4 separate regions of the Homo sapiens genome follow, and all the other regions are linked to region 1. Evidence: promoter capture Hi-C in 16 types of primary human blood cells and fetal thymus (Javierre and others, 2016). All regions are on one chromosome and are shown on one strand. Each heading gives the region's core, a stretch centred on a gene start or on the middle of the fragment in contact. The rest is flanking DNA. Distances are from core to core; before and after follow the strand shown.

Evidence for each region. The method cuts DNA at HindIII sites, captures the fragments that hold promoters and counts their contacts. A CHiCAGO score of 5 or more calls a contact.
Region 2: a fragment that was not itself captured here is called in contact with the fragment with the promoter of TXLNG in region 1 in 2 of 17 cell types (total CD8 T cells and total CD4 T cells); the score reaches 6.5 in total CD8 T cells.
Region 3: a contact is called between a fragment that was not itself captured here and the fragment with the promoter of TXLNG in region 1, in 2 of 17 cell types (total CD4 T cells and activated CD4 T cells). The highest score is 7.0, in total CD4 T cells.
Region 4: a contact is called between a fragment that was not itself captured here and the fragment with the promoter of TXLNG in region 1, in 2 of 17 cell types (naive CD8 T cells and fetal thymus). The highest score is 6.8, in naive CD8 T cells.

Annotation. Positions count from the first base shown.
Region 1 is chrX:16,783,935-16,789,468 of GRCh38, forward strand. It overlaps TXLNG (taxilin gamma), which reads left to right and starts at 2,532. Exons shown (of 10, transcript NM_018360.3): 1 at 2,532-2,655. The coding sequence starts at 2,554. It overlaps LOC124905250 (a long non-coding RNA gene), which reads right to left and starts at 2,332. Exons shown (of 2, transcript XR_007068398.1): 1 at 2,136-2,332; 2 at 1,726-2,029. RefSeq lists enhancers at 1,928-2,127, 2,099-2,831, 4,874-5,374 and a silencer at 2,878-3,317. The HindIII fragment of the contact is 8,203 bases long and covers 1-5,534 here.
Region 2 is chrX:15,695,794-15,701,327 of GRCh38, forward strand. All of the region lies in intron 3 of CA5BP1-CA5B (CA5BP1-CA5B readthrough), which reads left to right. It also overlaps the pseudogene CA5BP1. Among named protein-coding and RNA genes, the nearest start is that of CA5BP1-CA5B, 23 kb to the left of the region's middle. The HindIII fragment of the contact is 1,313 bases long and covers 2,545-3,857 here.
Region 3 is chrX:15,720,107-15,725,640 of GRCh38, forward strand. CA5BP1-CA5B (CA5BP1-CA5B readthrough) reads left to right here. Exons shown (of 12, transcript NR_160544.1): 4 at 1,391-1,486. Among named protein-coding and RNA genes, the nearest start is that of CA5B, 15 kb to the right of the region's middle. The HindIII fragment of the contact is 1,200 bases long and covers 2,378-3,577 here.
Region 4 is chrX:15,744,111-15,749,644 of GRCh38, forward strand. The region is part of intron 1 of CA5B (carbonic anhydrase 5B); the gene reads left to right. All of the region lies in intron 4 of CA5BP1-CA5B (CA5BP1-CA5B readthrough), which reads left to right. Among named protein-coding and RNA genes, the nearest start is that of CA5B, 8.6 kb to the left of the region's middle. RefSeq lists an enhancer at 3,060-3,921. The HindIII fragment of the contact is 2,553 bases long and covers 1,604-4,156 here.

The DNA of each region.
Region 1 (5,534 bases), core at 1,282-3,781:
CACGAGAATTCCTTGAACCTGGGAGGTGCAGATTGCAGTGGGCTGAGATCATGCCACTGCACTCCAGCCTGGGCGACAGAGCAAGACTCTGCATTAAAAAAAAAAAAAAAAAGAGGCCAGGCACGGTGGCTCAGGCCTGTAATCCCAGCACTTTGGGAGGCCGAGGTGGACGGATCACAAGGTCAAGAGATGAAGACCATTCTGGCGAACGTGGTGAAACCCCCTCTCTACTAAAAATAGAAAAATTAGCTGGGCGTGGTGGGGCGCGCCTGTAATCCCAGCTACTTGGGAGGCTGAGGCAGGAGAATCACTTGAACCCGGGAGGCAGAGGTTGCAGTGAGCCGAGATTGGCCACTGCACTCCAGCTTGGGCAACAAGAGCAAAACTCTGTCTCAAAAAAAAAAAAAAAAAAAAAGATATGCATTTAATTCAATTAAATATTTTTCATTTCTCTGAAGGCTTGGGGTTAATGGCATAGTTCTTTTCTTTTCTTTTTATTTTTTGAGACGGAGTCTCGCTCTTGTTGCCCAGGCTAGAGTGCAATGGCGTGATCCCGGCTTACTGCAACCTCCGCCTCCCGGGTTCAAGCGATTCTCCTGCCTCAGCCTCCCTAGTAGCTGGGATTGCAGGCACGTGTCACCACGCCTGGCTAATTCTATTTTTAGCACAGACCGGGTTTCACCACGTTGGTCAGGCTGGTCTTGAACTTCTGACCTCAGGTGATCCGCCCGCCTCGGCCTCCCAAAGTGCCGGGGTTACAGGCGTGAGCCACCGTGGCCGGCCTCTTTCCTTAATAAAGATAACTTTATTGATTTTTTTCATTCCATACATACTTAAACAATATAGAAAATCATGAAATTTGAAACCAGCCTGGGCAACATAATGCCCCATCTCTAAAAAAAAATTTTTTTTTGAGGAATAACTTACTTTTGTGTGTGTGTGTGTGATGGAGTTTCTCCTCACCCAGGCTGGAGTGTTCAATGGCACGATCTTGGCTCACTGCAACCTCTGCTGCCCGGGTTCAAGCGATTCTCCTGTCTCAGATCCCAAATAGCTGGAATTACAGAAGCCCACCACCGGCTGGGGGCGGTTGCTCACACCTGTAATCCCAGCACTTTGGGAGGCCGAGGAGGGCAGATCAGGGGGTCAGAAGTTCAAGACCAGCCTGGCCAACATGGTGAAACCCCTCTCTCTACTAAAAATACAAAAATTAGCCCAGCGTGGTGGCACGTGCCTGCAATCCCAGCTACTCGGGAGGCTGAGGCAGGAGAATTGCTTGAACCTGGGAGGCGGAGGTTGCAGTGAGCTGAGATCGTGCCACTGCACTCCAGCTTTGGGTGACAGCAAGACTCCGTCTTGGGAAAACAAAAACAAAGAAAAAAGAAAAGCCCACCACCACCACCATGCCCGGCTAATTTTTGTATTTTTAGTAGAGACGGAGTTTCACTGTGTTGGCCAGGCTGGTCTGGAACTCCTGACCTTGTGATCCACCCGCCTCGGTCCCCCAAGGTGTTGGCATTACAGGCGTGAGCCACCGCGCCCGGCCTCATAATGAATTATTTAAGACAATATATCAGGATTTCATGATGGTCTGTGCCTTTCAGAAGCTCGGCCATTGGAGATCTGGTTCCATCAGATGGAAATAGGGAATATTCCTGAGGAAATCTCCCCTCTCCCCCCCAACATCATATCAATAAAAAAAAAAATTCGGTTCAGCAAACCGAGTTTGTTGAAAAAATTTAGGTAATGAAACGAGTAAATGGGGTGGGAGAAAGCAGGATACATTCAACATGAATGAAGTGCCAAGTAAGTGTGCAGAAGCCGGGGCGGTTCAACCAAGGTGAATAGAATGCGGCACCTATCCCGCGGGAGCTCGGGACAAGTAAACCGTGGTAACAACTCTGGTGGAGGGGCAGGGCTCGGGGCAGGTGCCCGAGCACGAAACTTCAAATTCTAAGAGCCAATACACCTTCCGTCTTGAAAGTCGTGAAGTATTTTCCCTTATCCCCAAATCATTCGCGCCCAATTCCTAAGAACGGCAACAAAAACAAAAACACAAGAATGTGTCGCCGATCGTGCTCCTTCTCAAACACGGGGATATTTCTAAACTTTCCGCGAAAGATCATAACGAGTACCTTCCTATAGCCAGACATCGCCCCCAGAAACCGCAAGTCCCACTAGGATGCACACGAAGCACACTGGGTGCAGCACTCTCCCCTTTTCAGAACGCCGCCTTATGTCCCAATCCCGATCCGAGCCTGCGAGCTGTGGCCGCACGCCCTGCTGGGACTTGTAGTCCACTCCCGAGTCCCATTCCCGATCCGCGCAGACTCACACGGCCTCTATCTGCCCTTCGGTCTTGCTGAAGCCCAGCCCAGTATTCAATGCTCCCCATCCCCATCTCGCTCCGTCCCCTCGGGGGCCAACCTCCTCCGGTCACGTGGGAAGTCTCACATGCGGCGATTGGTCGTGGGGGCTCGGGGGCGGGGCGAAAGGCCCTGCGAGATTCTGTGCCCCTTGTCGGGCCGCTTGTTTGGCTGCTGCCGTCACCTCATGGCGACGCGGGTAGAGGAGGCAGCGCGGGGAAGAGGCGGCGGCGCCGAAGAGGCGACTGAGGCCGGACGGGGCGGACGGCGACGCAGCCCGCGGCAGAAGGTCAGTCAGGGGGACGCCCTCGTTGTTGTCGGGCCCGGGGGATGTTTGGGCTCCCTTTTTCAGGGTCCACCTCTTCTCTCTCCCTGGTTACCTATAGCCACGGGACGAACATCCGGTCTTCTTCCCTCCCGGGGGTGACGACAGTGGGAGCAGGTGGGGGGGGGTGGGACCGCGATGGATGGGGTGGGAAGGGACGACGGTTGGGGTTTGGCGGCGCGCGGCGGGGAAGCCGGGAGGGAGGGCAGGGGGCGCACGCGGTTCTAAGGGAGAAGGGGTGCGAGGCGGGGGTGCGCCAGGTGTGACAGCCACGTGCGGCCAGCACCGCGGGGATCCGGGCGCCAGGCGTTCCTTCTCCCAGTCACCGCCGTCACCGTGCTCCCGGCGCTGAGCGCCGCCGTCCGGGGGCTCGCTGGGGTCGTGGGCTCGCCCTCCTGGCGTCGGGCAGGTGCGCAGGGCGCGCTGCGGGGTGCCCCCGGGCTGCTCAGGCTAGGCTGTTGCGCAGTAAGATAACCGCGCGGGAGCCGGGGTGTGCTTGGCCCCCCTTCCCCCGCCCCCCTGCGCTCCCCGCCACTGCGCGGGCGGGCAGGCGAGCGGGTGAGTGTCGCAGGGCCGGTGCGAGCGGGACGCTCGGCCCCCGGGACCTAGACCCCGGGGCTCCGAGGGCTTGGCTGCACGTGGGGCCGGGGATGGATGGGGAGGCGATGCTGGAGGACCTCGGTCCTGCAGAGTTGGGATATCGCATGATAGCTGGTCCTCCCAGTCCTATTTACCACCCTCCTCTTTTTTCCCCTCTTTTTTTTCTTTCATTTATTATTTTTTTAATTTGATGAGTGGAAACTTGAATGCCTTCCCGACCCTGGCCTTGGGTCTTTCTTAATCTGGGAAACAGGCCGGACTGTTCCCCTTGCCTTACTTGACTCACGTCAAGGAGTTTTCAGTCCCTCCCTAGATACAGGAAAATTGAGACCTCTTTCAGAACGGGACAATTCCACTTGTTCTGGAGCTCAGTGGGTGGAGTTTGAAAAAGATTGCACAACGAACGGGGTACAGGGTTTTCGGGGCCCTGGAATGGATAATTGCGGGGACTGAGACTGGGAAGGTGGGAACCCCATCTCTTTTTTTCCTTGCAGGTGAACATACTGAAACGTTCGACTTGTTGGATATCTTGCTTGATCACCGAGGGCTATTTAATATTACTTAATTATGTATTTGAACACTCTTAACTCCTGTATGAAATTACGAAATAATATTTTTCTAATGCAATTCATAAACTTCAAATGGGAGAACAAAGGTCCAGTTTACGTCTGAGCAGAGTGTTAAGAATTAGCTTTTTGGGGCCTGTTTCTAAGGTCAGGTATTTTCATGTTTCTGCATGACAGTGTTACTACTTCTCAATTACCTCTCTTTCTTTCTCTCCCTCTCTTTGTATTCTAAAAGAAAGATCCAGTGCTTGCAGGACTGAAAAAGAAGCTGTGGACCAATGTCCTGTAAGGGATTCAACACCATCACTTTGGACACTTCACTTATTCCCTAAGGGTGGAGTGCCAATCTCAGTGTTTGATTTCGTAGGTTCCCCAGGGGAGGAGGACTCTGATAAAAAGCCACTGCAATTGAGGATATAAGTTCCCTTTTATGACACTGGGATAAGGACAAAAAGTCGTTGAATTAGGAACTGAGGTTTAATCAACTAGCATTTAAAATAACCAAGATAGGAGGTAATGACCCTTTGAGGTGCAGAGCTCTGGTTAACAGCTGGATAGGAATAGTCATGTGTGTGTCTACTCATTTTTGTTTATGTACCTCATACTCCATTCTTCTTTGCTTATGCTCTTCTGAGCATCTTTTTCTTTTTGATTTCTAACTGACAGTGACGGCATTCAAATACATGGTAAAATATTAATCTTTGAATTTTCATTTAACAAATTGGGTGAATTATCTTGTGTTTGCAAGAATCATTTTTAAGCCAGCTATGGTGGCATGCACCTGTAGTACCACCTAGTCAGGAGACTGAAGCAGGAGGCTAGCCTGGGCCGCAGAGTGAGACCCTGTCTCTTAAAAAAACAAACAAACTTGTTGTGTTTTTTTTTTTTTTTTTTGAGTCAGAGTCTTGCTCTGTTACCCAGGCTGCAGTGCAGTGATGCAATCTTGGCTCACTGCATCTTCCACCTCGTGGGTTCCAGCGATTCTCGTGCCTCAGCCTCCTGAGTAGCTGGGATTACAGATGTGTGCTACCACGCCCAGCTAATTTTTATATTTTTAGTAGAAACAGGGTTTCACCATGTTGGCCAGGCTGGTCTTGAACTCCTGGCCTCAGGTAAGCCACCCACCTTGGCCTTCCAAAGTGGCGGGATTACAGGCATGAGCCACTGCAACTGGCCAAAAATTTTTTTAAAAATCATTTTTACATTACTTCATTGTGTCCCTTAATTTTAAAATTTCTTTTGGGTCACTGACTTGAAAAAATATTTCTTAATTCCAGCTTAACTTCTATCCTTTTTTTCAGGAAGCAGAAATGTTTAATGAATTGAGTTTTTTGAAAATATTGAAAGAATTAAAAGAAAAGTGAGTGTTTTGTCATTATCTAGTTACATTATGGGACCTGAAGTGAGGAACAATTGGAGATGGGCTTTTTTGGTTCCTGGTTGCTTTAACCATCTGCCTAGTCACTCGCGACCTGCTCAGTTAATTGTGGCATTGTTTCATAACTACAACCATTTGAATGGTCTCTTGAGGTAACCTTTTGCTTCTAAAGGTAATGTTACAGTACATTACTAGGGGTCTCTTCAGGAATTTTCTAAAACTGTGCTGATAGTAGCCACTAGTGACATGTAGCTAAATTTGTTAACTAAAATTAAAATTAAAAATTTTTTTCTTCAGTT
Region 2 (5,534 bases), core at 1,951-4,450, 1.1 Mb before region 1:
ATTACCAAGGCACTTTGAATTGGGAAGTTTAAGTAGGTGAACTGTATTCCAGTTCTCTTTCAACACTGCCTTAGAAGGAGACCTGTAATTTATGAATGACCCTGGCCCTGGGTCACATTGCAGGGGACAGAAGTGATCATGTGGGTGGGCCAGTGAGCTTTCTGGTTTTGCTGCAGTGCCGCTGAGGACTTGGGGACTCAGGAACATATTGCTGTCCCCTCCTCTGTTCCTGACACCGGCTCCTTCTAAGTCCTTGTGAACACACCCAGAGCAGCCTTCTGTTCTGTAGCTGCCATCCCACAGGCAGGGAGCAGAGCGCAGTTCTACAGAAACTTGCCTTGTCCAGCTGGAAAGAACAATGACCCACATCCTTCAGGTTGGATGCCTTTGTCCAGCCCCCCAAGATTATTTCTTCTATATTCAGAATCTCAAAGGGCTGTGCTCTGGAGGCCCATATATTGTCTCCTTCTCCCTTTCATCCCCCACTGTATCCTTCTGGTCCCCACCTCTTTCCCCCTGCTTTCCTCTCCATTTCCCTCTTTTTTCCTCTCTCCCCTTTTAGTCCAGGTTTCTGGCTCCTCCTGATCTGCATTTCATTTTTTGTTTGTTTCTATCAACTTTTATTTTAGATACAGGGGGTACCATGTGCAAGTTTGTTACATAAGTATGTTGCATGATGGTGAGGTTTGGGGTACAGATTCCATCACTCAGGTAATGAGCACAGTACCAAATGGGTAGTTTTTTAACCCTCTCCCCCCTCCAGTAACCCCCAGTGTCTATTGTTCCCATCTTTATATCTGTGTGCTCAATGTTTAGTTCTCTCAAGAACATGCAGCATTTGGTTTTCTGTTCCTGCATTAATTCGCTTAGGATGATGGCTTCCAGCTGCATCCATGTTGCTGCAAAGGACATTATTTCATTTTTTATGGCTGTGTAGTATTCCATAGTGTATATATTACATTTTCTTTATCCAGTCCGCCGCTGATGGGCACCTAGGTTGATTCTGTGTCTTTGCTATTGTGAATAGTGTGACAGTGAACATATGAGTGCATGTGTCTTTTTGGCAAAATGATTTATTTTCCTTTGGGTTTATATCCAGTAATGGTATTGCTGCATTAAATGGTAGCTCTGTTTTTAGTTATTTGAGAAATCTACAAACTACTTTCCATAGTGGCTGAACTAATTTACATTCCCACCAACAGTGTATATGCATTCCCTTTTTGCCACAGCCTCACCAACATCTGTTGTTTTTTGACTTTTTAATAATAGCCATTCTGACTGTTTTAAGATGGTATCTCGTTGCGGTTTTGATTTGTACTTTTCTGATGATTACTGATGATGAGCATTTTTCATGTTTGTTGGCTACTTGTATGTCCTGAGAAATGTCTGTTCATGTCCTTTGTCCCTTTTTTAATGGGGTTGTTTTTCTGCATTGCATTTTAAAAGGAAAATTCTCAGTCTCCCTTGAAGAAGTGAAGCCTCCTTCTTTATGCACTGGCCACTGTCTAATACCTCCCAGCAATACTCAGAGGAGACTACCTGCTGGAACCTCACTAGAATTGAGAGATCAAATGGTTTTGGCTGTTTTCCCACTGGAGAATATAAAAAATACACAGTTAATTTTAGAAACAAAGGCTGGGCATGATTCCATCCTAAGCAGCAATTCTTCAGGTAGCTGCCCAGAAGGGCCTGGAGCTCCTCTGGACCACTGCTGATCTCCAGATACTCCCTGAGAACCGTCACCTCGGCGTCCAATTCCTGAGTGGTTTTCACTACTAAATAATGACTCAGTGACCCAGTCTCTTGGCCAGGACGCTGTTATGGAATTTGGGTCGTTTGGCACTTCCTGCCTGGTGCCCACCTGTCTAGATTACTGGACCCAAGTAGGTCCAGTATCTCCCTGGTCCAGCCCTGTCTTGAGTCCATCACCTTTATCATTAAGAAGCAGCCAGTAGAGGTTGATGATGATCAGGTACGTTCTCTCCACAATTTTCATCTAAGGAAATCCTCGTCTCCCCTTTTAAAACAAGGCTGGGCTCAGACTGTGGCATCAGTTTTAACATCTTGTAATGCTTATACATTTTTATTGAAGTGTACCAACGTCTTATCTCAGTTTGGACATGAATTTAGAGATATTTCAAATTAGCTAGAGAGAAGAGTTAAAACATAGAAGAACATAAGCTTTTTACATCTATATTTGACAGTGACATATGTTTTTATTATACATGCATTGTGTAGATTCTCTATGAAAATTAAGACCCTTTTAAATAAAAAAACGAAGGCTGGAAATGGGTGTATTCAAAACCCTTTAAAATCCTTAAGGGAGTTTTGCTATAGAATCTCAGGATAAAGACAGACTCCGACAATATTCATCCAGAAATTTTCATGTAAGTCAGTTGTTTGAAACTTGGGATTTATTTTTCTCTTAGAAACTAAGTCTAAGTGGTGGTTACTACATCAGCACACAAAATCCTGTTTAATTCATAAACTAAACTGTAATAATAACTGCGTTTACTTGTTCATATTGGATTTTTATTGACTAAAAGCTTCCAGCCTCTTTTTCATGCAGCCAGGATAACAGTGATACCAAAACCTATCAAAGATTAGACCATCCTACCCCCAAAATATAACAATAGGCCAATATCTCTAAAAAATATGTAACAACAGAAAAAAAAGCTAAATAAAATAGTAGAAATAGAATCTAGCAGTGCATTAGAAGAAATATATACTTTGTCCAGGTAGGGTTTATTCCAGTAATCCACAGATGGTTCAGTACTAAGAATGATATACTTACAATTAATGGATTTCATCCCATCAACAAATCTATATGATCATTTCCATGGATTTCCTAAAATACGTTAGACAAAACCCACCATCCCTTTAAAAATTTTTTTAATAAAACAGAAATGAAGAATTCCCTAACTGGATGAAGTAGATTTATCTCAGCTCAAAAATAAATAGTATGTTTAATGTGGAAAGGATATCATTAACTCCATGGTTATTAGCATACTAAATATTAAATTTAATTGAATTAACCTCTGGCAGGAGCCAATAAAGTTAGGCCAAAAAACATAAAGAACATTAGAGAAACACTAAAAACTCCTACAAAGATAATTCAGCAATTAGTGGAGTACCATGTCAATTTATAGAAATCAATTCCGTTGGCATATATAACTCACAGTTAGTTAAAAGACATAACAGAAGAAGGAAACCTACTTATAATAGAAACTAAAATAATGTTAATAAACAACATAAAATGTTAAGAAAGCTATAAAACATTTCTGAGGGACACAGAAGACTTGACTTTATAAAATTCATACCCTGTTTTTACATAGGAAGATATTATAAAGACACCTTTGATGTCAGTTCTCCTTAAGTTGATTCCATAAATTTAATATGGTTTTAATAAAAATACCAACAGAATTTTAAAACTAGATATAGTACTTCTAGAGTTCATGTGGAAAAGCAGATAAGCATGAATAGCTGGAAAAATTCTAAAGGAGGAAAATAAGGAATGATTAGACCCATAAGGCTTTAAAGCCACAATAATTAAATAGTATGATACTAGCACATGAATAGGAAGATAAATCAAGGAAGAAAATAGTTCAGAAATATGTCCAAATACATGAGAATTTACTTTATGGTAAAGATAGGATCTCAGCTCAATGCAGGAAAAGATAAATCCAGTAAATGGCATTGGGGGACAACTGAGCAGGCATTTAGGAGAAAAAGTTGGACCCATCGTTCAATCCTGACAAAAATATATTCTGGATGGAACAAAACTTTAAAGGTAAAAAAATGCCATAGAAGTACGAGGATAAGCATAGGAAAATTCTTTCATACATCCAAGTGGAGGAAGCTTTTCTAACTATAAATCAAAACCCAGAAGTAATCAAGAAAACAACTAGCAATTAGACTACATACAAAAATTTTAAAATCCTTTCTGATGAAAATCACCGTAAACAAAAGATAAATGACAAACAGGGAAAACATTTGCAACTCTGTTCCCTCATTCAGCTACTATTTATTCAATGCCTACTATATGCCAGCTACTCTTCTAGGTGTTTGAGACATCATAGTGAACAAAACAGAGAGTTAATTGCCCTAATATACAAAGAGTTTCTAGAAATCAGTTTTTAGATAATCAACAGCAAATGGTATAAACAGACAGCTTACAGTTAAGGAAACAAGAAACCCAATACCATGTGAAAAAATTTTCAGCCTTGCTTATAAAAAGTGACGAAACAAGATGAAACTACACTGAAATACAAATTTTCACATATCAGATTAGCAGAAACCCCAAAATTGTATTGCTCACAGTGCTGGTACAAGTGTGGAGCATGGGCAGCCTCATGTGTTACTGGTAGGTGGTAATGACACATGAATAAAGATATAATAGGCTAAAAAGTATGTTGTTTTACTAATAGTTAATTACAATATCAAAGGAAGATACAATGCTAAGTTGGTACTATTGTAGTAGCTATCAGAGTGCAGTTTACCAAACAGCAATTTATCCTACACATAAACTGCAGACCTAAACAATAATACATATACATAGTTATTCTTTGCACCATTGTTTGCAAACAACCTAAATACCAGTCACCTCTATGGCATTCCTCCTCCAAAATTTGTATTCCCTCATCTAAATCATGAGAAAAGACAAAACCAAACTGAAAAAGGACTTCTACAAAATACATCACCAGCCGTCTTCAAAAGCATCAAGGTCATGAAAAACAAGGCAGAAAAACTCCAGAGTGGAGGAGACCAAGGAGGAGTAGGTTCTGGAGAAGACAAAGGACACTTGGGCAATCTAAAGTCTGGAGTTCACTTAACAGTATCAACCCAATGTTAATTTCTTAGTTTGATGAATGCATCGTGATTATATAACATTAGAGGAAGCTGGATGAAAGGTCTCAACCTCAGCACCACTGACATTGAGGGCAGATCATTCTTGGTTGTGGAGACTGTCCTGTGCATTGCAGGATGTTTAATTGCATCCCTGGCCTCGACTCACTGAGTGCCTATAGTACCACCTCCCCAGGTCATGACAACCAAAAATGTCTCCAGACATTCTCCACTGTCAATTGCAAACTCACCCCTTGTTGAACACCACTGATAGACACTAATCCCTAATATCAACTAACCAATGAAATGCTGTACCTCTTGTTGTATGAGAAGAAGAAACAGACATCTTCTCAAGTCTATGAGAATGGCTTTTAACTAATCAACACCTTGATTAACCAGTAGAAGGCATATTTAGTGATGATTCGCTTATGACTGCCTGTACCTCACCGGGACAAAATTGTGGTTTGTTAGAGAGTCTTTAGCCACAAACAGAATAACAACCACTGGCTTATATTGCAAAAAGGATATGGGAAATTCTATAGATATTGGAAAGAAAAATATATTATAAGAAGTCTAGGCCGGGTGCGGTGGCTCATTCCTGTAACCGCAGCACTTTGGGAGGCTGAGGCAGGCGGATCACCTGATGTCAGGAGTTCAAGACCAGCCTGGCCAACATGGTGAAACCCCGT
Region 3 (5,534 bases), core at 1,728-4,227, 1.1 Mb before region 1:
CTTCTTTGCTGAACTTAACTGTGTTCTGTTTTTGTTTTTTTTTGTTTTTTTTTTTTTGTTGTTGTTGTTGTTTTTATAGAGATAGGATCTTACTCTGTTGCCCAGGCTGGAGTGCAGTGGCACCATCATAGCTCAGTGCAGCCTCGACCTCCTGGGTTCAAGCAACCCTCCTGCCTCAGCCGCCCTCCGCCCCCACAATAGCTGGGAGTACAGGCACATGCCACCATACCCAGCTAATTTTAAACTTTTTTTGAATGGATGGGGTCTTGCTTATATTGCCCAGGCTGGTCTCGAATTCCTGAGCTCAAGCAATCTTCCTGTCTCAGCCTTCTTGATTGCTAGAATTACAGACCTGAGCACTGCATCCGATCCACAGTGTTACTTTGAGTGTATTCCCACATCTTTTAATAACTGTCTAATATTTCATTCATTTTATAGATCTGTTGTATGCTTTTAAATTTATTTTTTATTTTTTTAAATTACAGCAAGCAATGCTATAATAAATATTCTGGAAACTGACAAATTTTTATTCACTTCTATTAATATCTTTGGTGTAAATTTAAATTTTGGAGTCAAAAGGTATAGAAACATGTAGGGTTTTAGTATGTGTTAATTTCCTTTCAAAAGGATTATGTCAGTGTACAGATTATTTGCTGTATATGAGTGTCCATTTTCCAGGATCCCGCGCCATATATTATTGGCTCTCAAAACTCTTTTGGCAAAACAAGTGGTATAGCAGTATGTAAATACTGCTTCCATTTGCAATCATTTGTTTCATAGTACAACTGAACATTTTTATATGTTGAATGGTCATTTGTATTTCTTTTTCTGCTTATTTGATCCTTTGCACTTTTTCTGCCAAAATTTTCATTATTCTCAATTTTTTTTTGCATGAATTTGTGTGTGCACAGGCATTCCTTTTTTTTTTTTTTCTTTTTGAGACAGAGTCTTGCTCTGTCAGGCTGGAGTGCAGTGGCTCAATCTCGGCTCACTGCAACCTCCACCTCCCAGGTTCAAGCGATTCTCCTGCCTCAGCCACCTGAGTAGCTGGGATTACAGGCACACCACCATGCCTGCCTAATCTTTGTATTTTTAGTAGAGCTGGGGTTTCACCGTGTTGGCCAGGCTGGTCTCGAACTCCTGACCTCAGGTGATCCACCCACCCCAGCCTCCCAAACTGCTGGGATGACAGGCATGAGCCTCCACACCCTGCTGTACAGACATTCTTTGCCAGTTGTTAGTTCCCCTTTCAATTTGATATATGATTTTTTTGCATTTTCCCAGAAAGCAATCCTATTATTTCATGTCATCTGCATATACTTTAAAGTTTCTCTCCTGCTTTTCAATAGTAATACCTAGTTGTTGATGTTGTTGTTTTGTCTCATTGTAGTGGCACTATCACAACAGAGTGACATAATGGTGGGATAACATGGACACTTGTCTTCTTCCTTACTGTAATGGGACTATTTCTACTCCACATAATCTGGTGAGTCACTGTTAAATATGATTTGTTTTCTGATAAAAGTATCCTTTTATTTCCAGTTTACTAAAAATTATTTTAATCAGTAATCAATTTTGAAATGTAACTATCTTTTCAGTATGTATTATTATGATCATTGGGTTTTTTAATCATTTAGTACTTTTATACTGATAAATTTCTTTACATTGATCTAACCCTTATATAAGTTAATTTTTATTTCAATTTTTCATTATTTGATTTTGACTATTTTAGTTATTTTCAGCAAGCTACTAGACATATTTTGCTAGGTTTTTCCTAAGATTTTTAGCTCTGTTTTCATGAAGAATAGCATATAGGTTTCTTTTCAGGAGCTAATTCTTGAAGATTTTTCCTTTTTATTGCCACCTTGAATATGGTATAGAAATATTTCTAGCATTTTCTGTGTTTTGAAATACTTTAAAAAGCATATGAAATAAACACTTTATGGATAAATAATCTGAATCATGCATATTTGTGGTGAGAAGTTCTCTGAAAACTTCTCATTTCTTCCACGGTCATTTGTATCAGATTTCATGAATCTTTCTAAATCCATTTAGACTCTACAATTTCCAAGACAATCCTTTAATTCATTCAGATTTTTCAGTATTCTCATGAGCATTATAGGATATTTTCTATAAAATATCTGTTTTTGTTGCTATGTTCTCTTTATATTTGCTAGTGAATACATTACTTTTTTCTCAGTTTCCCATTGGACATGCCAGAAGTTTTGCTAGTTTTTTGTTGTTATTTTTTCAAAGAACGTGCTCTTGGATTAATTTTCACTTTTATTCTTTCTGTTTCCTGATTCATTCATCTTAGTTCATTGATTAAGTTATAGTTGTTTTGCTGTTTTGTTTATAACTCTTGAGTTGACTAATAAGCTTGTTTACTTTTGGTCTTAGTTAATAATGAAAACATCTGTGGCTATGGATTTTCCTCCGAGTACTACTCTGGCTATATGACATAAGAAATATAGATGTATAGTAATCTCATTATCATTAATTTTCAGAATAGTCTATAATAACAGTTTTCATTTTTTCCTATAACCCAGTTATTACATTTAAAAGTATTTTCTAAATTTCTAAGTTCTTTTCAGATTTAACTCTAAATATATATGTATCATATTTTAAATATTGTTCTTATTAATCTCAAGCACATGAATACATATTTAATCTTAGAGTTTATGGGAGGAAATCTGTACAGTTTACTTTTAATATCCAAATATATTTTGTAAATAACTTCAAATAAGCATCTGACAATATTCATTTATTATTGTTATTTGCTCTGGCATTCTCCTTTTTTTTTTTTCTTTTTTTAAATTTCAACTTTTATCTTAGATTTTCGGGGGCACATGTACAGGCTTGTTTGTTACAAGGGTATATTGTGTGATCCTGAGGTTTGGGGTATGATTGAACTCATCACCCAGTGAGCATAGTACTCAGTAGGTGATTTTTCAACCCTTGTCCCCCACCCTCCTCCTCTTGTCATCCCAGTGTCTATTGTTGACAATATTCTTTTTAAAGGAATTGTAAGTGAATATTGCACTGTTACATTTCTGTTTTTAAAATAAAAGCATTGTCTTGACTTTCACATTATTTTAAAGCAGATATATCATATTAATATGATTAATACTATTAAAGGGCATGAAGTGGAAACTTTCTTAAGGTAGTAAGATTTTTATATCAGGATAAAGCTAATTCTTGCCCATGGGCTGATGTACTCATATGTTTAGATTTGTTTGACCACAGCAAAAAAAAATTGCTAAATGTGCGGCCCAAAGTGGCAAGATTTCAGTTAATGACTTGTATGGGTCCTATGAGATAAATAAAAAGACAAAAGCTCAAATGACAAATTTGCGACACTGCCAATAACTTGATTTCAAATATGAAGACACCACAGGTGACATGTCACATAGAAGGTACAAAAAACAAATTCATTGTTAAATAGCTTGATGGAGATCTCAGTAAAATAAATAGAAAATGGAACTAGATACTAGGATTCTTGCCTCTCAAGATATTATCTGTATTTTTTTAAACTTTTCAAAATCTTGCACAAATTTAGTGATTGTCTTGATGTGCAAGCTTTTTTTGTTTGTTTGTTTGTTTTTGAGACAGAGTCTTGCTTCGTCACCCAGGCTGGAGTGTAGTGGCACAATCGTGACTCACTGCAGCCTCCGCCTCCTGGGTTCAAGCAATTCTTGTGCTTCAGACTCCCAAGTAGCTGGGACTACAGGTGCACACCACCACGCCCAGCTAATTTTTGTATTTTTTGTAGAGACAGGGTTTCACCATGTTGGCTAGGCTGATCTCGACCTCCTGACCTCAAGTGATCTGCCTGCCTCAGCCTCCCAAAGTGCTAGGATTACAGGCATGAGCCACCATGTACAAGTTTTAAGTAGTAAGTTTTCAGAATCTTTATATCTGTGTAACTTGCTTCATAAACTGCTCATTTCAGCAACTTCACATAAGGGAGCTTAATAACTTATTAGTAACTGTGGTAATGATGACAAATAAAGCAGTTTGAATCATTCTGAATATGTTACTATTTACTTCCAAATGTTCAGAGTTTAGAGCATGTAGATTTAAAAGTTCAGATGACTGTTGCCATGAGCCACACAAAAGGGCACCAAGTCTCCTGAGATGGGAAAAAGAAATTGATTTCTCTGTGTTTTTTATACTCCACAACACTCTTGAAAAGCACTTTCTGGGCACATAACTATTGATCTACTGCTCTGGGGTAAATATGAGATCACATGAAAATGAAACGTGTCATTCTTTTGATTCATGCAAGATGCCTTTTAAAGTTCATCAGAGTCATAAAAGCATGTGGGCATATGTAGGCTCCATTCACCTGCAATAAAACGAGAATTAGGGAGGGCTGATGTTCCTTTTAAATTTGACTCTGAGTATTCTGTTTCATTATCACAGAAATGTAGTAAACATATAATGCCTAAAACTAGTATTATAAATTGTGAAACCATTTCAAATGTGATATTACTCTGTAAATTTTTATTGGGTTTTGGGAAATTTATCTGGCTGTGACACATTAAAAGAAATCAAATAAAACCTTTAATGGCTGAATATGGAAACGTTTTATAAGATTTTAAAATCATGCATTTTTAAAACCAGCATCTAAATTATTTAGCACCATTCAGAAATTTTCTAGAAGTTGTAGATTTTTAATCACATGTGATCCTTCATAGTTTAATGCAATGAAATTGATATGTCTACATAATAAAGCAATTTCAAGAGGTTTATAATAATTAGCCCAATATTTGCTGAATAATTAAGAGGTAACAAAATGGTTCTATTCTCTTTAAGCTATCATTAGGTTAAGATACATATGGAGATTAAAGATTTTTGCCTCATGTGCAAAGCCTATTCTATTTTAACCCAGGGGTTCTCAATCAGGGGCAATTTTGCCCCCCAGAGAACATTTGGCAATGTCTGGAGAGACATTTTTGGTTGTCACAATTGCAGTGGGCAGGGATGGGGGTGCTACTGACATCTAGTGGGTAGAGACCAGGGACACTGCTGAACATCCCGCATTATGTAGGGTAGCTCCACCACAAAGAATTATCTGGGTCCCCAAAGACAATAGTGCTGAGGTGGAGAAACCTTGTTTCAACCTAATGTTGCTACTTTCATTGTATAAATGATTTTGGGGCCAGGTGCGGTGGCTTATGTCTGTAATCCCAGCACTTTGGGATACCAAGGAGGGGAGGATCACTTGAGGTCAGGAGTTCGAGACCAGCCTGACCAACATGGTGAAACCCTTTCTCTATTTTAAAAATACAAAAATTAGCCAGGCATGGTGGCACGTGCCTGTAATCCAAGGTACTTGGGAGGCTGAGGCAGGAGAGTTGCTTGAGCCCAGGAGGCGGAGGTTGCAGTGAGCGGAGATCACACCACTGCACTCCAGCCTGGGCAACAGAGTGAGACTGTCTCAAAAAAAAAAAAAAAAAAAGATGATTTTGGATAATAGATCATGTATGCCTTCCTAGTTTCCCAATATTAGAAATAGTAACTTAGGGTCT
Region 4 (5,534 bases), core at 1,630-4,129, 1.0 Mb before region 1:
TACAGGAGAAACTTCCTCTAGGCCAGGCGTCATTGGCCTCCAGCCTTGGTGTCATGCAGACAGTGTGATTGCAGAATGGAGGGCAGTCCTCAAGGCATGACCATGGCCCTGGCCGTCAGCCCCAGCCTGCCATGCCTCAGTGCTTTCCGGATGGCTCTCTGTGGAGCAGAGTCAAGGGTCATTTCCCAGATGTCTCTGAATGCCATGCTAACAGGCCTCAGACCCACCCCCGACCAACAGCCTCTTGTGCAGGGCCCTGTGCCTTGGCCTCATGTGTGTTCACTCATCTGTTTGTACAGCTCTCCTGGCTGGCGGCCATGCCCTTGGCCTTGTCTTATCACAAGCTTCCCTTTGAAGGCAGAGCCCACACATCCTTTCTGTTGACTTTGCATTGTACTTGCCATCATCTTCCCAAAAATTACTATGTCTCATTCTAACTCGATTGTGAGCAAGAAAGGAGGCCTTTTCCACTTGTTTGCCCACATCCCCCTGATACTGGAATTGTTTATTGAGTAAACCTAAAGTTCTTCCCATTTTGACTCCAATTGTTCTCTTCAGCATTGGGGCCTCATCATCCCCTGCCACCTCCTCATCATCGCGGAAGGTTCCCCTGTCCATCCCTCTGCCTTTGCCTCCCTGTTAAATTGTCTCTCTCCTACAATACATTTTTCAGATGCCACCCTTTCCTGAAACTTAGAGCCCCTGCGCCACATATTCCCATTGCACTAAATCAAGGCCGTCATTGTGTCCAGCTTTGATTAAGAAATTTCTGTTTATGGCCAGGCACGGTGGCTCATGCCTGTAATCCCAGCACTTTAGGGGCCAAGGTGGGCAGATCACCTGAGGTCAGGAGTTCGAGACCAGCCTGGCCAACATGGTGAAACCCCGTCTCTACTAAAAATACAGAAATTAGCCGGGCATGGTGGTGGGTGCCTGTATTCCCAGCTACTCTGGAGGCTGAGGCAGGAGAATTGCTTGAAGCTGGGAGGCGGAGGTTGCAGTGAGCCGAGATCGCACCACTGCACTCCAGCCTGGGTGACAGAGCGTGACTCTGTCTCAAAAAAAAAAAAAAAAAAAGAAAAGAAAAGAAAAGAAAAGAAAAATCTGTTTAATTATACTAAGTAAAATAAGCCAGTCACAGAAGGACAAATACCGTACGATCCCACTTACGTGGGGTATCTAGAATAGGCAAATAAATACACAGAGACAAAGTAAAAGCGAGATTGCCAGGGGCTAAGGGATAGAGGAGGAGTTATTGTTTAGTGAGTACATAGTTTATGTTGGGGATGATGAAATAGTTTTGGGTGCAGATGGTGGTGATGGTTGCACAACATTATGAATGTATTTAATGCCACTGAATTTGTACATTTACAGCTGGTTAAAATGATAACTATTATATATGTTTTATCACAATTTTTAAAAGGTAACAAAAAAAGAAGTATTTGTTTAAATAGTTTTTCTTTGTAGATTGCAAGCTTGTGGGAGTGGGGAAAGAGCATGATCTTTTCATCTTTACACAGCACAGTGCTCGACATGAGATAATCACTCACTGTTCCTTCAGTTCAGGACTGGAAATCAATGGAAAGGAAGAACAGTTAAGGCAAGCTTTCCCCATATCTTTTAGAAGGTTTTGAAATTTCATTTTAATGTCAAATCAGTTTTATCAGAGGGAATCCTGATTAGTTGCAGTTGTTTGTTTGGGGATATTTATTGACTTTAAAAGAAAACAAAAAAATGATACTAAAAGTCGTCCAAAATGACTATTTTCATAGCTTTTTGCATTTATATGATGGGTAGCATTTTAACAAAATCAATTTGAGTAATAATAACTTGTATTTATATAACACTTAGCAGCTTTTTCAAAGAGCTTTCATAGCTTGCACCATTTGAAGCCACAGAAAGCGTCAACTTCTTTTTTTTTTTTTTTTTTTTTTTTTGAGACGGAGTCTCGCTCTGTCACTCTGTCACTCAGGCTGGAGTGCAGTGGTGCAGTGGCATGATCTCGGCTCACTGCAACCTACACCTCCCGGGTTCAAGCGATTCTCTTGCCTCAGCCTCCTGAGTAGCTGGGACTACAGGTGCACGCCACCACGCCCGGCTAATTTTTTGTATTTTTAGTAGAGATGGGGTTTCGCCATGTTGGCCAGGATGGTCTCGATCTCCTGACCTCATGATCCACCAGCCTCAGCTTCCCAAAGTGCTGGGGTTACAGGCGTGAGCCACTGCACCTGGCCAAACTTCTTGTATAGTGTAACTGAGCAACTATTTTTCCTGCTCCTTGGGTTCTAGATTCTTGCATAAATTTAAGGGTGTACTTTAAGCATTAATCTTAACCATTTCAGTTCATATTATTGTAACCACTCAAGGGATTCTTCCTGCCTGCTGCACAAAGAAAGACCACGGGGCATTGTAACCGCCCAGTGGGTTCACATTGCCCGCTGCCTGGACAGAATCGATTTACCAAGACAGGGGAATTGCAATGGAGAAAGAGTAATTCACATAGAGCCAACTGTGTGGGAGACCAGAGTTTTATTATTAAATCAGTCTCCCCGAGCATCCAGGGATCAGTTTTTAAAGATAATTTCGCGGGTAAGGGCTTGAGAAGTGGGGAGTGCTGATTGCTCAGGTTGGAGATGGAATCATAGGGGGTTGAAGTGAGGTTTTCTTGCTGTCTTTTGTTCCTGGGTAGGATGGCAGAACTGGTTGAGCCAGATTACGGGTCTGGGTGGTGTCAGCTGATCCATCAAGTGCAGGGTCTGCAAAATATCTCAAGCGCTGATCTTAGGTTTTACAATAGTGATGTTATCCCAAGGAGCAATTTGGGGAGGTTCAGACTCTGAGCCAGAGGCTGCACAACCCCTAAACTATAATTTCTAACCACTAGCTAAGTTGTTAGTCCTGCAGAGGCAGACTCGTCCCCAGGCAAGAAGGGGGTCTTTTTGGGAAAGGGCTGCTATCAATTTTGTTTCAGAGTCACACCATGAACTGAATTCTTTCCCAAAGTTAGTTCAGCCTATGTCCAGGAATGAACAAAGACAGCCTAAAGGTTAGAAGCAAGATGGAGTTGATTAGGTCTGATTTTATTCACTGTCATAATTTCCTCAGTTATAATTTTGCAAAGGCGGTTTCAGCATTGTAGTAAAGAAAGAGTTTAAGTAGACACGAGGCTGGCCACACCATGTGGGAGATGGAATTAGTACTGAAATAATCTCCTCCAAAGCTCATAGGTTACGGGTTTTTCAAAGGCAGTTTAGGGGAATGGGTGGAGGTGGCTAGGCTTGCTGCTGATTGTTTGAGGAGGAGATGAGATCAAAGTGTCCTTTGATTTCAAAAATACAATGAGGGATAAGTTGATAGGATGTCTGGGAATTTGCTTCAAAATAAGCTGGGGAGGAAAAATGGCAGGAGGGGGGGTAGAAGATGTATAAATAAAACTTGATTGGCCATGAACAGACAATTGTTGAAATGGAATATTGGGTACATGGGTGGTTTTATTATAGTGTTCTCACTATACTTGTATAAAATTTAAGTTTTCCATAATAAAGTTTTTCTTTGTTAAGAAAAACAAAGCAGAGTGAGATTCTAAATTGAAGTTGCCAATGGCCTATTGTTCTTTAAGTCTGCTCAGTTAATTCAGTTAAGGAAGTTATTTGAAAACAGGGTGCTAATGACGCGGCTTTGTTTTCTGGGGTAAATACCCTGGGTTCGGTGTCTCACACGGAGAAGATTAACGACAGGGACACACACGTGGAGTTCAGGAGAGGAAAGTTTAATAGGCAGAAGAAAGGAGAGAGGAGAGCAGCTCTTTCTCTTGCGAGAGGAGAGCAGCTCTCTCTCTTGCAAGAGAGGCGTCCAAAAATGGGACAAGTGGCGGACTGCAGCAGATTTTATAGGCAGGCTTGAGGAGGCGGTGTCTGATTTACATAGGGGCCACAGATTGGTTCGACCAGGTGTGACATTTACATAGCACGCAGGAAGGCTGGTCGCCCCACCCTAATCTTATTTTGCAAAGGGGCTTTCTACTTGGCCAGTGCCATCTTGTCTGCTCCTTACTGTACACTTAGCTGGCAAAGGGAAGATGAAGCCGCCATTTGGAACATGCCTAGTCCTATGTAGTATTTTTCTATTGGCACAACTGCCAGCATTCACCTGTGCAAGCTTCCAGCTTGCTTGTCTATGTCTGCAGCTCAATTTTACAGGCTGCTCTTTGTTAGGAAAGAAAATGATTTGGGGGCTGCTTTTTATTAAAAGGAAAACCTTACTGAGGACTCCCATATCCTCACTATCTGCCTAAGTAATTTCTTCTTAACTCCTATATCACTATTATTTAGCTCAAGGCACCATCAAGATAATCCCTTGAAAGTTGATTACCAGTCCATGTTTGATATCCTGAGTCAAACATTTGCATCTCTTAAATAAGGTGCATTTTGACATACATGCTCCGTTCAAAAATGTATATACACAAACACACACATAAAACTATAAGCAGGCCAGATGCAGTGGCTCACACCTGTTATCCCAGCACTTTGCGAGGCCATTAAGCAGGAGGATTGCTTGAGTCCAGGAGTTTGAGACCAGCCCAGGTAATATAGTGAGAACCCCCCCCCCCGCCCCCGCCAACCCCCATCTCTAAAAAAAATAAAGTTAGCCAGGGATGGTCGGGCACAGTGGCTCACACCTGTAATCCCAGCACTTTGGGAGGCTTGAGGTGGGAGGATCACTTGAGATCAGGGATTCAAGAACAGCCTGGCCAACATGGTAAAACCCTATCTCTATGAAAAATACAAAAAAGAGCCTCTGCACAGGTCGGAGGGAAAGAAAGGAGTTGGAAGATCTGAAGCCCACGTAGCTGGTGGGCAGGCAGGAGTGCAAATGGATGTGAGGCCGAGATCTTAGCAGGCCCAGAGCACATGGCCTTGCAGCCACACCACAGTCATGGTTGCACAAAGGATGTCCTGAACATCTGTTTGAATGTGTCTCAAGTACTCAGACTAAACACTTCTAAATCTGTAGTGGAATGAATGTGTAACCAAGAAGAATTGATTTTTTTTTTTTCAAAATTTCAGAATGGAATAGGGATAGTTTTCAGGGAAAATGGATGAAGCAGTATTGTGGTGGGGAAAGTGTTCAAAGTTAATATTACCATAACTTCAGAACACCATAGTGAATACCTTGGAAAGCATCATCTTCATCTTCTGAGACTTTGACTGTGACCATGTGAAAGGTAGAGAGAGAATTCAGGATTAACTTTGTCTGTTTTCCCATGTTCAAGGGCCATTGTGTTACACCTAAAATTGGCAAAGAGTCATAGATTATATTTAAGCTCAGATTTCAAAACTGTCCATGACTATTTTGGCAGGATGTATCTTGGGTTTTTTGTTTTGTTTTTGTTTTTGTTTTTTTGTTGTTGTTGTTTTGTATGCAATCTAGATGCAGATGTTTGTTTTTAGTCAGCCTGGAGGGAGCTTTAATGTTGGGGTTCTTCGTACATGTAAATACCATGCTGGATAATTAATTGGGATTTCCTGGAGCAA